3 separate regions of the Homo sapiens genome follow, and all the other regions are linked to region 2. Evidence: promoter capture Hi-C in 16 types of primary human blood cells and fetal thymus (Javierre and others, 2016). All regions are on one chromosome and are shown on one strand. The core of a region is centred on a gene start or on the middle of the fragment in contact, and the rest is flanking DNA. Distances in the headings are between cores, read along the strand shown.

Evidence for each region. Contacts are between HindIII fragments. The CHiCAGO score rates a contact against its expected background, and 5 or more counts as called.
Region 1: a fragment that was not itself captured here is called in contact with the fragment with the promoter of PLAGL2 in region 2 in 1 of 17 cell types (erythroblasts); the score reaches 9.9 in erythroblasts.
Region 3: a fragment that was not itself captured here is called in contact with the fragment with the promoter of PLAGL2 in region 2 in 3 of 17 cell types (erythroblasts, M2 macrophages and megakaryocytes); the score reaches 6.0 in erythroblasts.

The regions. Positions count from the first base shown.
Region 1 is chr20:32,440,569-32,444,654 of GRCh38, reverse strand. NOL4L (nucleolar protein 4 like) reads left to right here. Exons shown (of 11, transcript NM_001256798.2): 11 at 1-1,596. Among named protein-coding and RNA genes, the nearest start is that of ASXL1, 84 kb to the right of the region's middle. The HindIII fragment of the contact is 880 bases long and covers 2,204-3,083 here.
Region 2 is chr20:32,206,185-32,210,631 of GRCh38, reverse strand. It overlaps PLAGL2 (PLAG1 like zinc finger 2), which reads left to right and starts at 2,889. Exons shown (of 3, transcript NM_002657.3): 1 at 2,889-2,991. It overlaps POFUT1 (protein O-fucosyltransferase 1), which reads right to left and starts at 2,752. Exons shown (of 7, transcript NM_015352.2): 1 at 2,567-2,752; 2 at 440-561. The coding sequence starts at 2,690. RefSeq lists enhancers at 2,413-2,542, 2,005-2,918 and a silencer at 2,683-3,102. The HindIII fragment of the contact is 5,170 bases long and covers 1-3,975 here.
Region 3 is chr20:32,422,481-32,426,820 of GRCh38, reverse strand. All of the region lies in intron 4 of ASXL1 (ASXL transcriptional regulator 1), which reads right to left. Among named protein-coding and RNA genes, the nearest start is that of ASXL1, 66 kb to the right of the region's middle. The HindIII fragment of the contact is 1,744 bases long and covers 2,134-3,877 here.

The sequences.
Region 1 (4,086 bases), core at 1,394-3,893, 230 kb before region 2:
AGTGGGCATTGGTCTTAGTGGTGGATCATCAGGTAGACAAGTGATAGTGTGTGTAACCCATCTGAAATTCATTTTACCGTCACCACTCTTACAAAGGACAGTTTATTCCCAAGGACAGTGCTGACGGGGAGGGGGACAGGCAGGGAGTTAGGAGGGTTTTCGAGGATTTCAAACAGGTGGAACCCATCCATCCCTATTCCCAAGGGCCACTTACAACTCTAAGGGTGGTTACAGGATTAACTACCAGTTCATTTTCAAAATGCTGCTTTGAACTCAGAGGGTTGATACTTTTAATTTGTAATTTTTTGTAAAACTTTTTACAAAATAGTAAAGTATTTCACCAGAATACCAGTTTCAATCCGTCCATGGTCTGATTTTTATATAATTTAGTGGTGCTTTAGAAACTTTGTTTTTGTTGTTTCTGAGCTAAACAGCTCAATCCTTTTTCGCCTGTATCTACCTAAGACCAATGTGAACCTTTGTATTTTTGCTCCTAATTTTGGACTCAGTGAAAGTGTACTGTTTACATGTACAGATGCCCCCAGTCCCTGTGTGTTCTGCAAGACTTGCTCTTGAGGAGGAAGATGCACCTCACTAAGCTCATCTGCTTAGCAAAGCCACAAACAAAAACCTCTCACTTTTTACCTACGTTTCCACCTAAAAATACAACAAAAAACCTATACCACGTAGAACTCAGATTGGCTGAAAAACACTTTCCACCTGGTAGATGGCCCATATGCCTCAATTATGTGGTCCATTTAGGAGCAGGAGTCAGAAGAGAGACCTCTTATTGGCTGCTGGTGGGTAACTGCATGGACAGAGGAAAAGGGAAGGCAGGACTTTGCTGCAGAGCTGTGGGATGAATGTAGTTCTTCCCTGGGCAGCCTGGGAGTGGGAAGGTCAGAATGACTCATGTTGCCTTCAGGATCAAGCCATCCAGGATTTAGGGACAACCCAAGAGGTCTTTAGTCCTCTGGCATAATTTAGACATGTTTTGGAAGAGCATGAGTTCCATATCTGAGATGAGATTTAAGACTTTCAGTGCAGATAGTACAAGCCATTTCTTCAGGGTTCCTCTGGGGGCAGCTCCTTCATGAGGTCCCACCTCCGGGGAGGGGCACAGGGCTCCAGATAGTAAGCACTTAAGGCAAACAGTGGATGGCACCAACTTTTAAAGGTGACTCTATTAATGGCTTCACCTCTAAATTATATTTTTACAGATATGCACCTATGCAACTTAACGTGGCTCTTCTAAGCAGGTGAGGACTTCCTCCTCAATGCTCTCTATAAAAATTATTTGTGTTCTATATAGTGAGTTTTACCAGTAAATGTGGCTTAATATTTTAATTCTTAGAATGTGTCTTCTCTACGTGATGTGACTAAATTCTGTTTTGTTTGTGGAATGACTAGCACAGGCCGACTCCCTCTCTCCCTCACTTAACAAAAGACCAATGAGCTGTTAATCGAGCTGTTATCTCCATGGTATTACTTGCTAAATGCACTGATTTCATAAGTATGTGGAATCCTTTTCCTTTTGAATCTGTATATCATATATAAGACTGAATCTACTTAATAAACACTGAACAACAAACCGAATGCTCTGCTTCCACTGTGTCCTATCAACAGCAGCACCGCCTGCCACTTCTCATCCTTCCTCATCTAGTTGGGCACCGAAACATCTTTCTACTAGTAGATTCCACCTTTTCCTAGCCAATAGTATGGCACACAGAAGGTCCTCAGTACATTTTCTAGAACAAATAAACCTGTAATTCCAGCACCTCATCTGTTAGAAAGGGAAGGAAATGAACCTTTCCCAGGTGCCCTTCAGTTGCTGAGCACAGGCAGAACTCTCATGCACTGTTTTAAATCTCAGTTCCCTTACCCGCCACGTGCAGACACAGAGGCACACGGGGTACACGCCTTGCTGAAATTCAGTGACCAGCAAAAAACTTGTAGCTTTTCCACAACCTCTCACCCTAGCACATGGCCAACTGACTGAAACCAAATTCCCATAACAATCCCTAAGTGCTAGTTTGGAAAACTGAGCAAACATGATCCCTGGTTCTGAACCTTCAGTGCTGCACATTCCATTCTATGCAAAACCCTGGATCCCACCTTGAAGGAAACAAAAGGGCTGCTTTTCCCAAAGATACTTATTTGTGCTAATTTTTTTTCATCCTATATATATGGTTTAGGTTAAGCTTTAAGGAAAAATGGTAGGAATATGGCTGGGAACCAACATGATCATGGATTTAAAAACAACTTTAGGCATGTTAAAAGCATACATTTGCTAAAATTCCGTGTGTGTGTATATATACACACACATATATACATACATATATACACATATATATACATACATACACACATACACACATATATACACATACATATACACATATATACACATACATATACACATATATACACACATACATATATACATATATATGTATACACATTTATGGCAGTTATTAAAACCTTGATTTTTAAATAACATAAGAATCCTTTTTCTCATAGAAAGTCTGTGCAGTAGCCAAATACATAAAATGGAGAAGGGCATGACTTTGGGGCTGAGACTCACTGAGAGCCAGAAGACGATGGCCCTTGACACCTCCCTTGCCGCTTTCCTTTTGCTGAGGGGCAGCAAATCCTCAGTTAATACCACGGAAATTCCTTCTCCTGCCTCAAATGATCACCACTGAGACTCCTCAAACTATTAAGACTATTAGAAACCCACAACCTGTGACAACAGCTCCAGAACATGGACCCCGCTGGCCTGCTGGCCAGCCCTGCAAACACTTACCTCCTTCCACAGGAAATACTGCAGTCCACCAGAGCACTGAGATTCCCAGGAGAAATTGCCTGAGGGCAGAAAAGTGCTCCCTTATTCTAGTCTGGCTCCTTTGGGGGCTCCGCACCACTGTTGTTAACAGTGGATAAAAGACTTCATCAAATGGGAATGTCCCCTCAGAAGAGTGAACTAAAATGTATTCAATGACAAAACAGGCAAACCTCCCTTTATGAAAAATAGGAAAACATGCATATGCTATTTTTCCAACTTAAAATGCACTAGGGAAGCTTAGTAGTTACATTTCTTTGCAAGAAGAATCTCTGCAAAATCCTATCTTCCCTTAATTGATCTTTTGTATAAACACAGATTTTATTAGGTTTATTCTCAGCCAGTGGTTCTTAAACAAAGGGCCCCAGCTGCCTAAGGAGCTGGTAAATCCTGACACAGTATGCAAAACTTTGTGAGGCCAGGTGTGCTGGCGGGAAGATCGGGAAGATCGCTTGAGGCCTGGAGTTCAAGACTAGTCTGGGCAACAGTCTCTACAAAAAATTTTAATATTAGCTGGGCATGGTGGCACGTGCCTGTAGCCTGAGCTACTTGGGAGGATGAGGTGGAAGGACCACTGGAGCTCAGGAGTTCGAGGCTACAGTGAGCTATGATCACGCCACTGCACTCCAGCCTGAAGAGAGTGAGAGTCTGCAAAAAAACCCCAAAAAACTTTGTATGTGCATTCCATGGGGGGAGAGTTCCCAAAAAAAGGTTAAGACCCACCCATATCAGGTAACACAGCACTGACAACTGTTGTTCTCACAGGGCGTTCGTCTATGGCTTACGGTAGAGATGTTCATTCTAGGCTTTCAAATTGACCAGAGACAAGAGGAAGCATAGGGGTGTTGTCCAATTTTGGAGCAATCTCCAAAGTTCCACATCCTGCCACTTCTATGGCTTCAAACAACACCCACACGAGGGCAACACAGCCTGGGTCCCCTCCTCTCAGGGAGACAGGGCAGGCAGATGCTTTGGCCATCAAGACCCCTGATGGATGCAGGCAGCTCTATTTAGCATGCACACATACCCACACACACTCTAACACAGTCTTACAGCAGGCTGGATAGCAAATAAATGACACCTTGCCAGGCCAGTACCATTCTTCCTATATTCTGAAACATTATTTCCCTTGTCCTTTGGACCATGAGCAAAATAAGCCTTCCTGACCAAATATTCAGTCTAAACTCAGGACTACACTCAACCTTTGGTCAGGTCTGTGGCCTGAGACCAAAAGCCAGGGTCCA
Region 2 (4,447 bases), core at 1,640-4,139:
GCATGTCTCCTTTAAAATTGATAATAGCATCTGCCACCCTTGGCCAATGGAATGCACAGAGGGTAGGACCAATCAGGGAAGGAAATGGAGGCTTTAGGTTCAAGTCACAGGCTCTGGAGTCAGACAAAGATAGCTTTGAATTCCAGCTCTCCTACTCACAGGCTGTGTGATCTTGGGCAAGTTACCTAACCTCTGTAAACCCCGGTTTCCTCACAGGCAAGTGATGAGGGTGAAATGAGCTAATTCTCATGCAGCCGCACACAACAGGTGCTGGATAAATAAATGTTAGGCATTGTTATTGCAGTGAAGACAGTTCTGGCTGGAGGTAGGGAAATCTCAGAGGAGTGGGAGGTAAAGCCCAGAGGACTTGAGGGTTAAGTGTAAGTAAGCAAGACTGAGAAAGGGCGGAGAAAGGCCAAGGTCAGTGGGAAGTACTCACGTTGGTGAAAGGAGGCTTGTGATGCTGGTACTCAATCCAAGGAGGGACAGCCAAGGTACGGTTTAGCAGCTTTGCAAATGCCAGAGAGCCCAAGAAGTGATCGGCCTGGTTCCCAAAGCGCCCTGGAAATGGTACATTGCGGGTGAGGTGAGGCCTGGGGCATGGAGGGCATAGAGCATGCAGGGCTCAGAAAGGTTGTGGAGCCAGGGGTAGAAAGTCAGGGATACCAAGGAGAACTAGGGGAGCTGGCAGCATAAGAACAAGTCTGGACTCTTGGGTCTGATATCCAAGGCTCTTCAGGTCCTGCAACAACTGCTTCCGCCACTCCAGGTTTCTTGCTGTTTCCCCAACATGCTCTACAATTCCCATCCCCACCCAATGCCTCTGATCTTGCTGTCCCTCAGCCAGAAGAGCTTCTACCTCTATCTCCATTCACCTGCACATGGACGGGCAACTCGAATGCCTCATTCACTGGGCTCCTTTCACCAATCCCCTGCCATACTCACTCTCCCTCCTTTACCTCCCACCTTGGCTCTGAGCTACTTCAGTTCTTCAATTTTCCTCAAGTATCTTTGCTCACTTCCTGGCCTTCGTACTGGCTGATTCCTCAGCCTGTGAATGCCTCAGAAGCAAGGACCCTGTGTGATTCCTTTTCTTAATCCCAGCATGGCACCTGTTCATTCATTTCACAAATATGATTGAGAGGCCACAATGTGCCAGACTCTGTGCTAGGTGCTGGGATACAGGAATGAACAAGAAGGACAAGGCCTCTGCCCCTAAGGCACTCACAGTTCACTGCAGAGACACTAAACATGTAAACAAATACATGAAAAATGTTGATAATTGCCAGAAAGAGATGAAAAAAGTTTGGTGATAGGGTAATGAGGAGATTACTTGGGTAGAGGTCAGTGAAATCCTTTCTGGTGACATTTAGGCTGAGATCTAAAGGATGGGAAACAGCTGGTCAGGCAGAAATGGAGGAGAGGATTCCAGGCATAGGGACCGCCACCTGCAGCAGTGCAGACTGGAAGACCTGAGCATGTGTGAGGAACGCAAAGGAGTTAAGTGTGGCTGCAGCTGGAGGATCAGCAGAGAAGGGAGTTGTGGAGATGGCCAGTGGAGGCCACATCATTCAGGGCCCTGAAAGTCATGGTCAGGAGTCTGGAAGCCACTGGGGGCCTTAAGATCATCCACTTCCACAATGATGATCCACCATACCCATTTCAACTGTGCACCTGGCATGGTCTTTAGATTCTCCCCTACCCTGCTCTCTTTATTTTCCCTTAGTATTCATCATCCTCTATGAAACTATGTATTTATTGTTTTATGTTTACCCCTTTTTGGGTTTGCTTGTTTCGAGACAGGGTCTCACTCTGTCACCCAGGCTGGCAGTGCGGTGGCACGATCAGAGCTCACTGCAGCCTCGAATTCCTCGGCTCAAGAGATCCTCCCACCTCAGCCTCCCAAGTAGCCGCCCAGATAACTCCCAAGGGACTACAAGCACACGATACCACGCTCTGCTTTTTTTTTTTTTTTTTTTTTTTGAGATTGGATTTTCACTATGTTGCCTAGGCTGATCTCGAGCTCCTGGCTTCAAGTGATCCTGCCTCGGTCTCTCAAAGTGGTGGGATTACAGAAGTGAGCCACCGCGCCTGGCCTACTTATTCTCAATTGTTTGTCTTCCCCAACTAAAATGAAGGCTCTACAAGGACACGGAGTTTATCTTATTCACTGCGGTATTCCCAGTACAGAGAACAGGGCCCGGCACAGAATAGGTGCCCCATAAATATTTGCTGAATCAATGAAAAATCACCAGGAGCCAGCGTGGGTCAGTGACATCAAGTCCTGCCCCACTAACTCCATTTACTGGACCCTGGACTGGCTTAGACCTCAAGCAAGTCACGTAACCTCTCCCAGCCTCAGTTTTCTCATCTGTCAAATGGAAAGTTGGACACGTTGGCCCCTCTGTGCCCTTGCAACTAAGGCAGAGAGGAGAAGAGCATGCCCCGTCCCGCTCTGAGGTTCTCTCCTGGACCTGTGAAGGTGTCTCTGGGCGCATCTGAGGAGTGGCTTTTCCTCTCCCGGCCTCAGTTTCTCCATCTGAGCAGAGGGCTTGGGAGGCCTTACCCATGCAGGGGCAGTAGAGCAGGTAACCGGCCGGGTCCCAGGAGCCCGCAGGCATCCCCGGGAGCGGCAGAAGCAGCAGCAGGAAAGACACGCTCAGCGGCCGTGCCCACGCGGCGGCGCCCATGTCGGCCCGGGAACCCGAGCCAGCCGCGGCGCACAGTCGGGGAGGGAAGGAGGGACGCGAGCGCCCGCCCCGCTCCCAGCGGTCCCTGCGCGCCGCCCGCGCACCGCCCCGGCCGCTCTAGCCCGCGGGCGGGCGGGACCATAGAGATCCCGCGGCACCGCCCCCTCCACGACCCGAGCGCCCGCTCGCGCGGCTCCCACAATGCACCGCACAATGGCCCGACCGCCGCCACTACCGGGGCCTGAGGGGGCCTGGCGGAGCCCGAGCGCGGCCCGGCCCGCAGCGTGGGGCCCCGAGCGCGGTGAGTGCCGGCGAGGGCCCCAGGGGACGGCGGGGAGAGGGGCGGGAGGCCGTCTCGCTGCGTCCGCGCGCCCTGTACCCGGAGCGGCGGCGCGCCTCATCTCGGGCCCCTCAGCGCGGTCGCCCACACCCCCGACCCGGGGCCCGGTCTGCGCCAACCCGGCCCCAGATAGGCCCTGGGGTGACGAAAACTCTCCCTGGACCCCATACCTGTGTCTGGGGGACCCGAGGAAGCCACCGGTCCCCTCCCTTCCGAGACCTGGAGACGCAGTCCTGAGGGTCCCCCATTCCCGACCCCTAGGCTCCCTGGAGACCCAGATAAGGCGCTGCTGACCTTACCAGGGACCCGGGTCTGGGGGACGCAGATAAGCTGCACCTGCTCCCTCCCTCCGACACGCCTACCCAGACCCACATAACCCCCTTTCCTGCTCCAGATAGCCCGCTCTGTACCCTGTTTCATTTTCCAGACTTACATAACTCCCTTTGAGGCTTCCCTCAAATATCTGGGTCTGGAGAAGTCGAATAAGCCCCACCTGTAGTTCCCTCCTCAGTGGCCATACTCCCAGGCTTTCGACATCTTCCATCCCGTTACCCATTTTGAGACCCTCTTGAAATTCAGAGGATACACTTCTGACTATCCCCATCCCCCCAGCCTTCCAGCCCTTATAATCCCCCATTTCATTCTTGTGGGGATCCCTTAGAGACCCAGGAAAGTTGCTCATGATTCCTTCCCATCCTCGCTCTTCCTTCCCATCCCAGAGACTCCCTCCAGACTTCTCCCTGGATTTCCTTTGCTTCTCCAGCCCTCATCCACTCCCATCTCTCCCAGGCTCGGGGAATTGAACCTTTCCCACACCACAGTGGGGTGATCTAAAAGTTGGCCTGGGACCAGGCTGTGGCCCACCTTGGTGGGGAGAAAGGGGCCTGTTAGGTGGAGGATATGGGGACACCTGTGTGGGGGAATCGGTGCTTTCACCTGCAAGCTTAGCCTGTCTCCTGGCTTGTGTGTTTTTCCACCTGTCAGCCATGGGACTGTGTGTAGAGTCTGGTCTTGGGTTTCTAACCTTTCTCTCCTAAGGTGAGGCCACCAGATTGGGAGCGGGGGTGTCGAATCACGTTTTCTCCCCATGAAAATGGGGTTGTGATGAGTTGCAGCCATTTGTTCAAGGCCTCCCCAGGAGTGGGAGGCAGCAGGAATCTGAGGAAATAGTGAATCAAAGAGACTCCAAAGAGGGCCCATCTACACTGACAGAAGAATTAGCAGCCTGAGAGTAAATCCAACCCCTGTTAATCCTGTTTGATGTTTCTTGGAATGGTGCAAGTCATTGAGACTCTCCAGCCTCCCTGTAATTTAATTCTCCCACCACTCTGGAGTGGGCGGGGGGGAAGGGGGCGACAGCATTCCCATTTCCCCTCTTCTCACTGTTTTCCAGCCAACCAGTGTGTTTTAGGATTTG
Region 3 (4,340 bases), core at 1,756-4,255, 220 kb before region 2:
TTTGGGAGGCTGAGGCAGGTGGATCACGAGGTCAGGAGATTGAGACCATCCTGGCCAACACGGTGAAACCCTGTTTCTACTAAAATACAAAAAATTAGCCAGGTGTGGTGGCACGCGCCTGTAGTACCAGCTACTCGGGAGGCTAAGGCAGGGGAATCACTTGAACCCAGGAGGTGGAGGATGCAGTGAGCTGAGATTACGCCACTGCACTCCAGCCTGGCGACAGAGCAAGACTCCATCTCAAAAAAAAAAAAAAAAAAAAAAAAGAAAGAAAAAAAAGAAAACAGTTTTCTACATCTTTACCTCTTTTCCTTACTGGCCATACATGGTCTTCAGAATCAAAAGCTAAATAATATTTTTAGTTATGCTTATTGACTGCCATGTTCTTGGTATAATAAAACAAATTTAATCTCTCTTCTCTCATGGGCAAACTAAGATAAAATACTCCTTAATGAATTAAGAAAGTCTATTACACTGGCAAAGTTACCCCAAATCTCCAGTTCTGACAAGAGTATGAGAAAATCATACATACACCCTTGATGAAAGTAAAAATGGCATAAAAAGGTTCACATGCTGCCAACGGAAAACTATTAGCCAAAACCTAAAAAATATATATGTATCTTTTATCCCAATACGAGATTTACACAGGACATGAAAAATATTGATTCTTACAAAGGAGAAAACAAATCAATTAAACTACATTAAAATTAAGACCTCCTATTCATCAAAAAACATTATTACCTACAGAGCTGAAAAAGATATCTGCAACTTACATAACCAATAAAGAACTTGTATTTAGACTACATTTATAAATCAGGCCGGGCATGGTGGCTTGCACCTGTAATCCCAGTACTTTGGGAGGCCAAGGCGGATGGATCACTTGAGGTCAGGGGTTCAAGACAAGCCTGGTCAACATGGTGAAACCCTGTCTCTACTAAAAATACAAAAATTAGCTGGGCGTGGTGGCGCACACCTGCAGTCCCAGCTACTTGGGAGGCTGAGGCAGGAGAATCACTTGAACGAAGGAGGCAGAGGTTAGTGAGCCAAGATTGTGCCACTGTACTCCAGCCTGGGTGACAGAGCCAGACTCCTTCTTGGGGGCGGGGAGAGAGGGGGAACAAATATAAATCAATGGGCAAAAGGCAACTCAGAAGAAAAATAAAAGATGTGAATTAGGCACTGCACAAGAGGATACTGAAGTAGCCAAAACATATAAAAGGGTATTTAATCTCACTAACAATAAGGAAAATGCAAAATAATGCAAATTAAAACCGCAATGAGATACTACCACATCCATCAGAATGGCTACAATTAAAGTTTGACAATATCAAGTAGTGTTAATTAGGAGTAGAACAAGTACACTGAAAACAGATCCAAGCATTTGAGAATACAATTTGGCCTTATCTGGTACAGTTGAAGATACAAACATCCTCTGACCCAGCAACGTCCCTCCTAGGCTTGGATTCCTTAGAGAAGTACATGCACATCTACACAAATCACAACCCACATGTTCATGATGCAGCATTTGAAATCTGGATTATAAACAATCAAAGTGGCTGCCAAAGGCAGAATCAAATTGTAGTACATTCAATAAATGGATGATTATACAGCAACAAAAAATGAATGAACTATAGCTACTAACGACATAGATGAATATTAAAAACAAAATAGTGAATGAAAGCCAGATACAAAATAATGCATAGTTGATGATTCCGTTTGTGAAAAGTTCAAAATAAGCTCAACTAAACTACAGCATTAGGAATGCAAAGACGGGTAGGTAATCTAAAGGAAAGCAAGAAAATAACTTTCATAAAGTCAAGACAGAAGTTACCTTCAGCTGGAAGAATGGGGCTGTGACTGGGAAGGGGCAGTGGGGGGTAGGGGAGGTGCGCCTGGCTGCTGGCCATATTTGATGTCGTGATCTAAGTGGCAGTTACAGGGTGTTCACTTTATAATAATTCCTTAAGCTGAACATTTGTGTCCTATGCATTCACTGTATTACATTCCCACAATTATAAAAGTTTAAAAACAAAAAATTTTAAGGTATTTCCTTCAAGGAACACTACCACAGATAGCCATTTAAAAGAAAGCTGTACAGCATTTAATGACAAGAGAAACGATGATACACAAGCTTAATTAGGCAATTAAATTCATACAGTATGATTCTATCATCTTTTTTAAAAAATGAAAATTTGAATGTGTTTGCATAGAAAAATGCAAGAGAAATTCTTACTAAGCTGTTGGCCACCACCATCTCTAGGTGGCAGTTTTTTTGTTTGTTTTTTGAGACAAGAGTCTCGCTCTGTCACCCAGGATGGAGTGCAGCGGCATGATCTCGGCTCACTGCAACCTCCTCCTCCTGGGTTCAAGCGATTTTCCTGCCTCAGCCTCCCGAGCAGCTGGGATTACAGGTGGCTGCCACCACGCCCAGCTAATTTTTGTAGTTTTAGTAGATATGGGGTTTCACCATGTTGGCCAGGATGGTCTTGAAATCCTGACCTCAGGTGATCCACCCACCTCAGCCTCCCAAAGTACTGGGATTACAGGTGTGAGCCACCGTACCTAGCCTAGGTGGTAGAGTTTTAGTAAGTGCTTTATATTCTTTTCAATTGTGGGTATTTTCTACTATTAACATGTATTGTTTTCTGTGATCAAGAAAATAACAATGAAAAAGAAAAATTAGGTGTTAAATGCTTTACCAAGAGCTAAATCAAAATTTCCTTCCTCTAGGTCCTAGAGTCTGGGGAAACCAAGTACTGTTTACAAATCTCATTAGTTAAACAAACAGGAATAGGGCCTGGTTGTCTGCAATTCAAACTACCCAGAAGTTTCTAAAGCCATGCATTTTCAGTAAAAAGACAAGGAAAACAAAACTTTTAAGAGTAAGATTTGCTATTCTAATACTGCATAATTTTTATTGTACAGACAGGGTCTTGGTCTGTTGCCCAGGCTGGTCTCAAAGTCCTGGGCTTGGCCAGGTGCAGTGGCTCAAGCCTGTAATTCCAGCATTTTGGGAGGCCAAGCCAGGCAGATCACTTGAGGTCCAGAGTTCGAGACCAGCCTGACCAACATAATGAAACCCTGACTCTACTTAAATACAAAAATTAGTTGGGTGTGGTGTACATGCCTGTATTCCCAGCTACTCGGGAGGTTGTGGCAGGAGGATCGCTTGAACCCGGGACATGCAGGCTGCAGTGAGCCAAGATCATGCCATTGCACTCCAGCCTGGGCAACAGGGTGAAACTCCATCTCAAATACATAAATAAATAAATAAATAAAAAATGCTGGGTATTGTGGCCCACACCTGTAATCCAGCACTTTGGGAGGCCGAGATGGGGGGACCACCTGAAGCTGGGAGTTCGAGACCAGCCTGGGCCAACATGATGAAACCCCCCCTACTAAATATACACACACACACAAAAAATTAGCTAGGCATGGTGGCACACACCTGTAATCCCAGCTACTTGGGAAGCTGAGGCACAAGAATCGCTTGAACCTGGGAGGTGGAGGTTGCAGTGAGCTGAGATCATGCCATTGCACTTCAGCCAGGGCGACAGAGTGAGACTGTCTCAAAAAATAAAAAATTAAAAAAAAAAATCAAACTCCTGGACTCAAGCGATCCTCCCACCTCAGCCTCCCTAAGTGCTAGGTTACAGGCCAATTCTACAATTAGCCACATCCAGCCAATTCTGCATTTGTAAAAGATCATTAATCTTTCCATATAAACTCTATAAGTTTGACATAATTGACTTTTCATACATTAACCCTATATGTCTGACAAAAACGAAATGGGTTACTGAAAATAACAGGTGCCAGAAAACATGCCCTAGGATTCAAGATTTTAACATTTTACAAGAATAATTTTCATCATGAAGCTTTTAAAAAAATTAATAATGGGTGATCTTTCACTAAATCCTACATATAAAAAATTCTATAGGCCGGGCACGGTGGCTCATGCCTGCAATCCCAGCACTTTGGGAGGCCAAGGCGGGTGGATCACAAGGTCAGGAGTTCGAGACCAGCCTGGCCAACATGGTGAAACCCCGTCTCTACTAAAAATACAAAAATTAGCCGGGCATGGTGGTGCACGCTTGTAATCCCAGCTACTCGGGAGGCTGAGGCACAAGAATCACTTGAACCTGGAAGGCAAAGGTTGCAGTGAGCCAAGATCATGCCATTGCACTCCAGCCTGGGAGACAGTGCAAGACTCTGTCTTTAAAAAAAAAAAAAAAAAAAAAAATTAACCAATCCTTCACCACACAGTTACCATGAGAGGGAGAGTGTGAGATGGGGAGTGTGAAGACAATTAAGATCTACTCTCAGCAAATTTCAAGACACTG